Regions from separate parts of the Homo sapiens genome. Here region 1 is linked to region 2. Evidence: promoter capture Hi-C in 16 types of primary human blood cells and fetal thymus (Javierre and others, 2016). All regions are on one chromosome and are shown on one strand. Each heading gives the region's core, a stretch centred on a gene start or on the middle of the fragment in contact. The rest is flanking DNA. Distances are from core to core; before and after follow the strand shown.

Region 1 (5,545 bases), core at 1,139-3,638, 350 kb before region 2:
GACCTCGTGATCCACCTGCCTCAGCCTCCCAAAGTGCTGGGATTACAGGCGTGAGCCACTGTGCCCGGCCTTTTTTTTTTTTTTTTTTTTTTTTAATGGAGATGGAGTCTCACTATGTTGTCCAGGCTGGTCTCGAGCTCCTGGCCTTAAGCAATCACCTCGCTTCAGCCTCCCAAAGTGCTGGGATCAAGGGTTTGAGCCACCATATGCCTGGACTTAAAAAAAACAACAACTCATCAAATATTGAGGGCCTGTTTTGGCCAGACACTGTTTTAGATGTTGGAGATTCAGCAGTGAATCAATCAGAATTCTTGCCCTCTTGGATCAGGCTTTCTTTCACTCAGCAATATGCAGCTAAGGTTTTTCCACAATTTCTCCTGGCCTGATAGTGTGTTTCTTTTTGGTGTGGAATAACATTTCATTGTGCGGTTCCAGCACACAGTTTGCTTATCCATTCACCTATTAAAGGATGTCTTAGCTGGGCACAGTGGCTCATGCCTGTAATCCCAGCACTTTGGGAGGCCGAGGTGGGCAGATCACGAGGTTAGGAGTTCGAGACCAGCCTGGCCAACATAGTGAAACCCCCGTCTCTACTAAAAATACAAAAAATTAGCTGGACGTGGTGGTAGGCGCCTGTAATCCCAGCTACTTAGGAGGCTAAGGCAGGAGAATTGATTGAACCTGGGAGGCGGAGGTTGCAGTGAGCTGAGATCATGCCATTGTACTCCAGCACAGGTGACAGTGCGAGACTCCGTCTCAAAAAACCCAAAAAAACAGGACATCTTAGTTGCTTCCAAGCTTTAGCATTTATGAATAAAGTTGCCATAAGCCTTCATGTGCAGGTTTTTGCATGGATATAAATCTCCATCATTTTATTTTATTTTATTTTATTTTTAAATGAGACGGGGTGTGCCCAGGCTGGTCTTGAACTCCTGACCTCAAGCAATCCACCCACCTTGGCCTTCCAAAGTGCTGAGATTACAGGCATGAGCCACTATGGCCGGCCTTCATTTTATTTTTTAAAACTTAATAGAGCTAAAGGGCTGAGGAAATAATGAGAAGCCAACCACTGATGGAGGATTCTGGAGGAAGTTCTGATAGGCTGCAAGCCCCAAAGATAGGGGCACCTTGGCAACAGTTCCTTTTTTTCTTTGTTCTTTCAGATTTACTCAGCAAATGACTCAAACACCAGTAAACTAAAATAAAAAAAAAAAAGAAAGAAAGAAAGAGAGGATTCACTGTCCAGTAACTTTCAATAGCTGATTTCTTACCCATTTTGACTTTCTTCTGTTGCTCTTCTCAGGGGAGTCAAACATCAAGAGGCTACAGGGCGCCGGGTGCGGTGGCTCACGTCTGTAATGCCGGCACTTCAGGAGGTCGAGGCGGGCGGATCATCTGACGTCAGGAGTTTGAGACCAGCCTGGCCAACGTGGTGAAACCCTGTCTCTACTAATAATAAAAAACTAGCTGGGTGAGGTGGCTCATGCCTGTAATCCCAGCACTTTGGGAGGCCGAGGCAGGCAGATCACTTGAGGTTAGGAGTTTGAAACCAGCCTTGCCAACATGGTGAAACCCCGTCTCTACTAAAACTATAAAAATTATCTGGGCGTGGTGGCACCTGCCTGTAATCCCAGCTACTCTGGAGGCTGAGGCAGGAGAATGGCTTGAATCCGGGAGGCGGAGGTTGCTGTGAGCTGAGATCGCGCCATTGCACTCCAGCCTAGGCAACAGGAGCGAAACTCCGTTGTTTCGCTACAGGAAATTCCAAAAAGAGGCTACAGGAAATGTCAATACCAGGCCAGAGAAGAAGGGTTCCCAAGTTTGCTGGAGGGTCTCAAGGCTTCCAGCTTTGTGGTTTTCGGCATTTGGTTCTCTTTGACCAGATCATCAACTGTTGTGGGTGACCACGCCTCCTCACTCATCACCTGTTTCTGAGCTTCTGTGAGAAAGAATTTTCTGGCTGGGCGCGGTGGCTCACTCCTGTAATCCCAGCACTTTGGGAGGCCGAGGTGGGTGGATCAACTGAGGTCAGGAGTTCAAGACCAGCCTGGCCAACATGGTGAAACCCCTTCTCTACTAAATATACAACAAAAATTAGCCAGGCGTGGTGGAAGGTGCCTATAATCCCAGCTACTCGGGAGGCTGAGGCAGGAGAATCGCTTGAACCTGGGAGGCAGAGGTTGCAGTGAGCCAAGATCACGCCACTGCACTCGAGCCTGGGCAACAAGAGCGAAAATCTGTCTCAAAAAATAAAATAAAAGGAATTTTTGCTGTGTCTGTGGGAAGCCCATCTTCACCCTGCCTGCCATCAAATGCACACAGAGAACAGAGTGCAGCCCTGTCGTGAAGGTAGAGGTGTCTGTGTGTGGAAGGGTTGACATGTCCCACATCCACCGCAAACCATGTCTTCTTTTATTTTTTATTTTTTGAGACAGAGTCTCGCTCTGTAGCCCAGGCTGGAATGTAGTGGCAGCGGTTTTGGCTCACTGCAACCTCTGTCTCCAAAGTTTCAGCAGTTCTCCTGCCTCAGCCTCCTGAGTAGCTGGGATTACAGGCACGCGCCACCACACCCAGCTAATTTTTTATTATTAGTAGAGACAGAGTTTCACCATGTTGGCAAGGCTGGTCTCGAACTCCTAACCTCAGGTGATCTGCCTTCCTCGGCCTCCCAAAGTGCTGGGATTCCAGGCGTGAACCACCGCGCCTAGCCACAGACCACGTCTTCTTCCGTGACAATTTACGGTTCCTGACTCAAGGATGACTACCTCTCCCAGCACTTTGGAAGGCTGAGGCAGGAGGATTACTTGAGCCCAGGAGTTCAAGACCAGCCTGGGCAACAATAGTGAGACTTTGTTTCTACCAAAAAAAAAAAAAAAAAAAAACCGCTGGATGTGTGGCACGCGCCTGTAGTCCTAGCTCCTTGGGAGGCTGAGGTGGAAGGTTCTCTTGAGCCTGGGAGGTCAAGGCTACAGTGAGCCAAAATCATGCCACTGCACTCCAGCCTGGGAGTGCAGGACCCCGTCTCAAAAACAAAAAATGGGCCGGGCGAGGTGGCTCACGCCTGTAATCCCGGCACTTTGGGAGGCCGAGGCAGGAGGATCATGAGGTCAGGAGATCAAGACCATCCTGGCTAACATGGTGAAACCCCGTCTCTACTAAAAATACAAAAAATTAGCTGGGCGTGGTGGAGGGCACCTGTAGTCCCAGCTACTTGGGAGGCTGAGGCAGGAGAATGGTGTGAACCCGGGAGGTGGAGCTTGCAGTGAGCTGAGATCGCACCGCTGCACTCCAGCCTGGATGACAGAGTGAGACTCCATCTGAAAAAAAAAAAAAAAAAAAAAGTTGACTACTTTTGGGAGCTCCAAATCTAAGAAGCAGGCTATGAGAAAATGGGCCTAAAGCCTCCTCAAATCCATAGCAAATCAGGCAGGGTGGTCATGTCATTACTCCCAAGACAGAAACAGATTTTCTCCTGTCCCAGTATTGATACATTTCTTTCCACTGGGCTTTTCCTGTATTTAAGTGATGTGTTTTTGTTTTTAACACAATTATAATCCTACTGTACATGTAAGATTATGCGCTTTCATTTAACATTGTACTATGATGATGTTTTCCATGTTTTTTAAGTTTTTCATAAAGTATAACTTTTGTTGGTTGTATCACAATCTTTTTTTTCTTTTTTGAGATGAGATCCTCCTCTGTTGCCCAGTGGCAGTGCAGTGGCATGATCACGATTTATTGCAGCCTTGACGGCCCAGACTCATGCAATTCTCCCACCTCAGCTTCCTGAATAACTGGGACCACAGGTGTGTACCACCATGCCTGGCTAATTTTTATTTTATTATTTGTAGAGATGAGGTTTTCCTATGTTGTCCAGGTTGGTCTCCAACTCCTGGGATCAAGCAATCCTCCCGTCTCAGCCTTCCAAACTGCTTGGATTACAGGCATGAGCCACTGCACCTGGCTCATAATGATTTTTAAAGCTTATTTGTATTAAGATATAATTCACATAACATTAAAAAACATCAAAAAACTGTATGTTTAAAAATATACAGCTTCGTGGGGTTTGTTTAGTATATTGTGCAATCATCACCGCTATCCAATTCCAGAGCTTTTTTTTTTTTTTTTTTTGAGACAGAGTTTTGCTCTTGTTGCCCAGGCTGGAGTGCAGTGGTACCATCTTGGCTCGCTGCAACCTCCGCCTCCCAGCTTCAAGCAATTCTCCTGCCCCTGCCTCCCGAGGGTGGGGAGGGATTACAGGCACCCGCCACCACATGAAGCTAATTTTCAGATTTTTGGTAGAGACAGGGTTTCACCCTGTTGGCCAGGCCAGTCTCGAACTCCTGACCTCAAGTGATCCACCCGCCTCGGCCTCCCCAAGTGCTGGGATTACAGGTGTGAACCACTGCACCTGGCCAGCACCATCTTATTAATACATTCCCACCAGCGAGGTCTGCGGTTCCAGTTTCTCGCCATCCCCGCTGACACTCGATGTTTTTTCTTTGGTGGATGCTCACATGCTTCTGCATGAGCCTTTTTCCCTCCTTTCCCCACGCCTCAGTTCTGGAGTCACCGTCTCTCTGAAGTCTCTCCTGACCCCATCCAAGTCGGCCTCCCCTCTGCTCTCCTTGCCCCGCTGCCTTCTGGGATGGATTACTGCTCAGTATCTGCCACGGTATCTCCGGCTTCCTGAGGGCTGGTGTTTGGTAACTTTCTTATGCATCTCTGTCTCCAGCACCTGGGCCTGTGTTCGACGGCTCAGTAGACACTAGAGTGCAGGGATGGAGATGACACACCACCCAGCATGGCTCAGAGTGAAGTGATTTCCCCCTTCCACATCCTCATCTGCCTCCACCCCATGAAAGTATTTATAGACAGGGAATCGTGGGAGTGGAGAACTACGTACGTAGCAGGGTTGAGTAGAGAAAGATGGGAAATGTCCACAGACGTCTTTTCTTTGCTCCCCTTTGCGGTGGGGATTCTGGAGATGTCAGGGACTGTGGGGATTGGCTGCTTGGTAGGCAGACATGAATGATGGGGTATCAGGACTAGATTCAGCTGCCCTGAAAGTGACAGAGCCCCACAATAGTGGCTTGAATTCATCAAAGTCCACAGTAAGCTCACCAGGGCTGGTTCAGCCACTGTCTCCATCAACTTCCCAGGAGCAGAGCACTGGCCCCTTCCAGCCCACCATGCCACAACCCTTAGGGCAGAAGGACCCAACCCAGTACGGGTCTGTGGCCTGTAAGGAGCTGGGCCCCACAGCAGGAGATGATGGCGGGCGAGCAAGCATTACCGCCTCCTGTCAGATCAGCGGCGGCACTAGATTCTCACAGGAGCACGAACCCTACGTGAACTGCGTACGCGAGGGATCTAGGTTCCACGCTCCTTATGAGAATCTAATACCTGATGATCTGAGGTGGAACAGTTTCATCCCAAAACCGTTCCCCCTCCACCGTGGGAAATTGTTTTCCATGCAACCGGTGACAAAAAGGTTGGGGACCGCTGCCCTAGGGTGTGGCCATCAGTGTCAGCAGCCAGAGCT
Region 2 (5,409 bases), core at 2,481-4,980:
TTTAGGTTAAAGACCCAGAGAGTAAGTGTTTTCATACAAAAGAAAAGAAATTCAAAAATTTGTCCATTCTCAGCCCCCTCCAAAGAATAGGATTCAGAATGATGACGATGATCATGAGGAGGAGGATGAAGATGATGATGAAGATGGCTAAAATTTACTGAGGAGTTACACATACTCAGCATTGTCTTCAGCATTTTGGTGCAGATAAACTCAATTACTCATCACAGTACCTCCATGTTGAAGATACCACTATTACCCCCATTTTAGAGATGAGGAAGCTGGGCCTCAGCGATGTTAGGTAACTTGTCTACATTCAACCAGCTGAAAAGGAGCAGGGCCTGCTTGAGTCCAGCCTATCTGGCTCCAGAGCCTCTGCTTACCACACCCAGGGCTCTGAGACCCAGAACTTGGCCTCCTGGTTGCAGTACAGATAAGGCTCTAATCCATTATCCTCCATCGACCAACCCTACACCCAAAACACCCACACCCCAAACTCTGTCTCAAAATAACCTTCGCAGGACTGGGTGGGACCCAACAGGTAAGAGCTGGGGTGGTGCCCAATGAGGCACCCCTCCCGGAAGAAAAACACAGGGTAGTGGACGGACAGGAAACCCTGCATTTTTCATTCCCAGCACCAATGGCTGGAGGGTCCCTGGAAGCCTTCTGTTTGGGAGATGGCCAACAGGGAAGCAGCCCAATTCCTGGGTGACTTTTCCATAAGCCAGTTTTCATCAGCATAAGAATAGCCCTGCTCCAGGGCGGCTGAGGCTGAGGCCCTTTGTTAGAAAATATTCTGCTTCCCCAGCCCAGCTGCGGAGAGGTGGGAACCACAGACAGCCCTGGGCACAGACAGGCCGAATGGCCGCTCTAGGGCAGGCGGTGAACAACTGCTGAGTCCGCACAGGATTCGGTCCCTGCCCTCACAGGACTCACTCCTCCCTGCTCCTTGGCCAACTGGCACACACCAGGCCCGGCTGTCGGGCCAACTCCTTCACAGGCTTCAAACCCACTGAGATTAACAAACCAGACCTGCTCTCCGACAGCAGCCTGGCCCGCTCCTTTAAGAGGCAGCTTCTTGTGCCGGTCTTCCCTGGGGAAGATGGGCATGGAAAGGTGGCAGCAGTTGCCCCACTGTGGGAAAGAATAAACAGAAAGATGCTGCAGACCTGGGCGGCCTGAAGACAGGTGGGGGCCATGGAAGGGGCAGCCATCAGGCTGGTTTCAGGTTTAGAGGACGTCTGACTTGGTCACCACCTCTCTGTTCCCGCCACTGTGCCATCCTGGACCATGCCACCATCAATGCTTACCTGTGGTCACTGCAGCAGCATCCTAAGTGGTCCCCACAATCATGTCGCCAGCCTCTTCATGCCCACCCCAAGCTGTGCCCTCTGCTTCCGCCACAGGGCAGGCTGCTCTCGGCTCCTCAAAAGGGCTGCACTCTACTCTGAAGACCTGCGTGCCACACTGTCTGTACATCATGCCTGATTAAAAGCTACAATAGGGATGGGCGTGGTGACTCCTGCCTGTAATCCCAGCACTTTGGGAGGCTGAGGCAGGCAGATCATTTGAAGTCAGGAGTTCAAGACCAGCCTGACCAACATGGTGAAACCTGTCTCTACTAAAAATACAAAAAAATTAGCCGGGTGTGGTGGCGCACGCCTGTAGTCCCAGCTACTCGGGAGGCTGAAGCAGGAGAATTGCTTGAACCCAGGAGGCAGAGGTTGCAGTGAGCTGAGATCACGCCACCGCACTCCAGCCTGAGCGACAGAGTGAGATTCCGTCTCAAGCAAACAAACAAAAAACAACAACAGACCAGCATAGTATATCACATGCATGTAATCCCAGCACTTTGGAAGGCCAAGGATCCTTGAGCTCGGGAGTTTGAGACCAGCCTGGGCAACATGGGGAGACCCTGTCCCTACAAATATAAAAAAAAATTAGCCAGGTGTGGTAGCATACACCTGTGGTCCCAGCTACTCCTGTGGAGGTTGAGGCAGGAGGACTGCCTGGGGCATGACAGTGGCACTGCACTCCAGCCTGAGTGACAGAGCAAGACCCTGTCTCAAAAAAAATAAAATAAAAATAAAAAATGACAATAAAGCCACGGATACAAGAATCTCATTAGAAAAACTTGGCAGAGAGTATATAAAAGTTTCCTCCCAACCGGGCATGGTGGCACACGCCTGTGATCCCAGCTACTCAGGAGGCTGAGGCAGGAGAATCGCCTGAACCCGGGAGACAGAGGTTGCAGTGAGCCAAGATCACACCACTGCACTCCAGCCTGGGCTACAGAGTGAGACTCTGCCTCAAAAAAAAAAAAAAAAATTATCCAATTGGGGCCGGCAGTTAATTGAAAGAGCTGGTCAAAGCAACTTTTGTTAAAGAACACCTAAGTTCTCTACACATCTATTACTTTTTTACATATCTCACATTAAATGGAAACATACACCTTTTCCTTGGCCGGCCTTCCTGGCCTTTTCTCTGAGTGTGGGCTTGCCAACCAGAGCTCCTGGATTGCTATCTTCTAGTTTTGGTTGAGTGTGGGCTTGCCAACCACAGCTCCTGGATTGTTATTTTCTAGTTTTGGTTTCTTTAAAGCAGAACAAAAACTTAAAGTCATTGGAACTTAAAGGCAAAGGAAGCTGGGTGTGAAAACCTTCTGGGTTTTTACAAAATGTCCCTGATGTTTAGTTATCATGTCTGCATCTTTTTCAACAGGAACATTATCTGAGTGATTCCAAAGTCATCCCAAAGTAGTCAATAGGTATTTCTAGAAAGAATTTCTTTCTCCACTCGCTCTGAGGTGCAGCACAGGTGCTTCAGCGCTCAGACTGTGTGCTGCTGGATTCAAACTCCAACTCAGTTACTTACTAGCTGATGACCTCGGCTAAGTTATTTAACCTCTCTGTGCCCGTTCCCCACATGTAAAATTGGGGTTTCAGCTATTATTGTTGCTTCATTGGTTCCCGGGATGTTAAATTCAATTATGTAATTACAAGTACAACTGCCATGAACAGGTTTGGGAACCAACACTTGACTCTTGATAAGCATCTGACTTAACTGACGGAGCTGCACGCAAAGGGTGAGCTAGAGACTGGCCCACTGCTGTGAGCGTTCAGCATGCCAAGGGCCTTAGTCAGTAAGTTTCACACAAGGAAACAGAAAACATCAGGTAACCCGGGTCAGTGACGCCCATGATAGTTAAGAACGACTGTTCTAAATCTGCCTCCATCTGTCATCCAACCCTGGCCACACCTGGGGAGAATCACCTGGGGATGTGTAAACAATACGACATCCTGGCAACCCCAGAGACTGATATAAGTGGTACCAGGTGGGGCCTGGGCATTTCTCAAAGCTCCTAGATCTTTACCAGCTGGGATAAGCACCCGAGGGCTAGAAGGGAAGCCCTTGGAGGGCAGGGCCCGCCTCTCTGATCTCACAACTGGACACACAGTGCCTGGCATGGTTCCTGGCCATAGCGGGCCCTCACATCCTAGCTTTTAAAGGAGTATATGGTGGCCACTAGGTTTCAAGCACCAGGGCACAGGCTTGATCCCCTCTTCCCAGCTTCCCTATTGTGCCAGTGGGCAGAAACCAACCACACAATGTTGCTGAGGCCGTGCCCAGGGAGCAGACAAAGGCACCAATGGGAAGCCTCAGGGGGGGAGCAACACTTCCCCCAGAAACAGTTCCAGGAGGCACCAGGCGCCAGCCAGGGCTGCAGTTAATCATTCACCCCACAACACAGGAAGTGAGCCCTACGCCAGTCCCAGCCCCAGGGCTTCCTGAGCTCGGGGCAGGTCCGCAGTCCACACGTCACCCAGACAGAGGACAGCCCAGCCCAGCCACAGGTGAGGCGGCCTGATGGCCTGGGGCAAAGGCCCTCGGTCCAGTCTCTTCCCCGTCCACCCCAAGTCTGACTTCTCTCAGGAGGGACTCATGAACACGTGCCCTGAGCACCCCCAAAATGACATCACACAAGGGCAGAAAGGAGCTGAAGGGGGAACGTGAAAGGCAGAAAGGGAGCCGTGGTTGCCAGGCAACCAGCCCTAGCCCACCTTTGTTTGTTTGGTGACAGCAACTAAGGTCTGGTCAGGGCCGCTTGGCCACGCTCATGCCTTTTCCTCTCAACAGTTGCTTCTTTGAGTCAGGGTGCAGCTCTGGTCACCTGGCGGCCTCTTCAGCTCAGCCCTCCACAAAGTGTGAGCCTGAAGGACCACCCTGAATTGCCCTTGTAGGACCCAGAACAGCTACCAGCAGAATCAGGTAATGGCTCCCTCCTTCTCCACCTGGGCTGCCCTCACCTGGCTATGGGCTTGCAGTCTGCGATAAGGAGCTCCGCTTCTAGAGGACTCCTAAGTTCTATTCTCAGCTGCTCCAAGGAGGCTACCGAGGCCTCAGCTGGAGTTGGCCCCTCCTCGGCTCCTATACGCTCTCTCAAATGCCTCCCAAATGTTTGGCAGTTGGGGCAGGAAAAACAGGGAGACTCTATCATGATGCTTTTTAGATTCTAGCCAAGTAGGTCTCAGGGATGAGAGAGAGTCCTTGCTCACACTTGCTACTCAGGAAAGAAGGACTGGAGAATCCAGGGGCATCCCCTAGGAAGAATCCAGGGCCCCACTTCTTGCGCCAGTCCTGGCTCCTGTATCTAGAGCGGGGGAAATGCCATTTGCTGCTGGCTGCAGGCATCCAGCACAAAGACTCTAGCCCTTTCATGTCCCCTGGCTGCCAGGCGGGCCGGCTGCTCACAGAGGCTGCTACAGAGGCTGGAGTCGGCGGGCAGAGCATAGCACCTGGGACAGGGCCTGGGAGGGCTGCCTGCACTCAGGTCCTCTGTCCCTCTTTTCCAGATTCTCATGGACCAACTGGTATTCAAAGAGACAATCTGGAATGATGCGTTCTGGCAGAACCCCTGGGACCAGGGGGGCCTGGCAGTGATTATCTTATTCATCACCGCTGTCCTGCTTCTCATCTTATTTGCCATCGTGTTTGGTTTACTCACTTCCACAGAAAACACTCAGTGTGAAGCGGGTGAAGAGGAGTGACCTGACTTGCTGGGGACTGAGATGGCAGCAGGGGAGGCGAGCTGACCTGCCCCCATTCCAGTGGTGGGCCCCTTCGCGGTTCCCTCTGGCTCAGGGGCCAAGCCCTGGTGTCTTCCTTTCCCATCAGGAAAAAGTCTAGTAAAATACTGTATCTGGCTTAGGGTTGGTCAGACTAGTAAGATGGGGAGGCTGGTCTGAGACCAATTCTGGCTCCTTGACCCTATTGTTTTTAGGGTTCCCCGACCAGAACCCTAAAAGCACATGGAGAGGATGGCTCCACTGCCTCAGGTGGAAGGAGCTATGGCTAACAAGGTTCTCTAACAGGCTCACAGGCCCAGCCAGCAATTTCACAAATCCTTGACAG

Evidence for each region. Contacts are between HindIII fragments. The CHiCAGO score rates a contact against its expected background, and 5 or more counts as called.
Region 1: a fragment that was not itself captured here is called in contact with the fragment with the promoter of ERLN in region 2 in 1 of 17 cell types (endothelial precursors); the score reaches 5.1 in endothelial precursors.

Annotation. Positions count from the first base shown.
Region 1 is chr17:75,296,408-75,301,952 of GRCh38, forward strand. LOC124904059 (a long non-coding RNA gene) reads left to right here. Exons shown (of 2, transcript XR_007065908.1): 2 at 1,304-1,472. Among named protein-coding and RNA genes, the nearest start is that of SLC25A19, 9.7 kb to the left of the region's middle. RefSeq lists enhancers at 1,172-1,431, 1,602-1,681, 4,762-5,262. The HindIII fragment of the contact is 3,185 bases long and covers 797-3,981 here.
Region 2 is chr17:75,642,521-75,647,929 of GRCh38, forward strand. It overlaps ERLN (endoregulin), which reads left to right and starts at 3,731. Exons shown (of 2, transcript NM_001162997.2): 1 at 3,731-4,266; 2 at 4,851-5,409. The coding sequence starts at 4,857. The coding sequence ends at 5,045. The region is part of intron 8 of RECQL5 (RecQ like helicase 5); the gene reads right to left. RefSeq lists a silencer at 569-863, enhancers at 3,658-3,802, 3,970-4,049 and a cis regulatory region at 3,723-3,736. The HindIII fragment of the contact is 6,633 bases long and covers 1-5,409 here.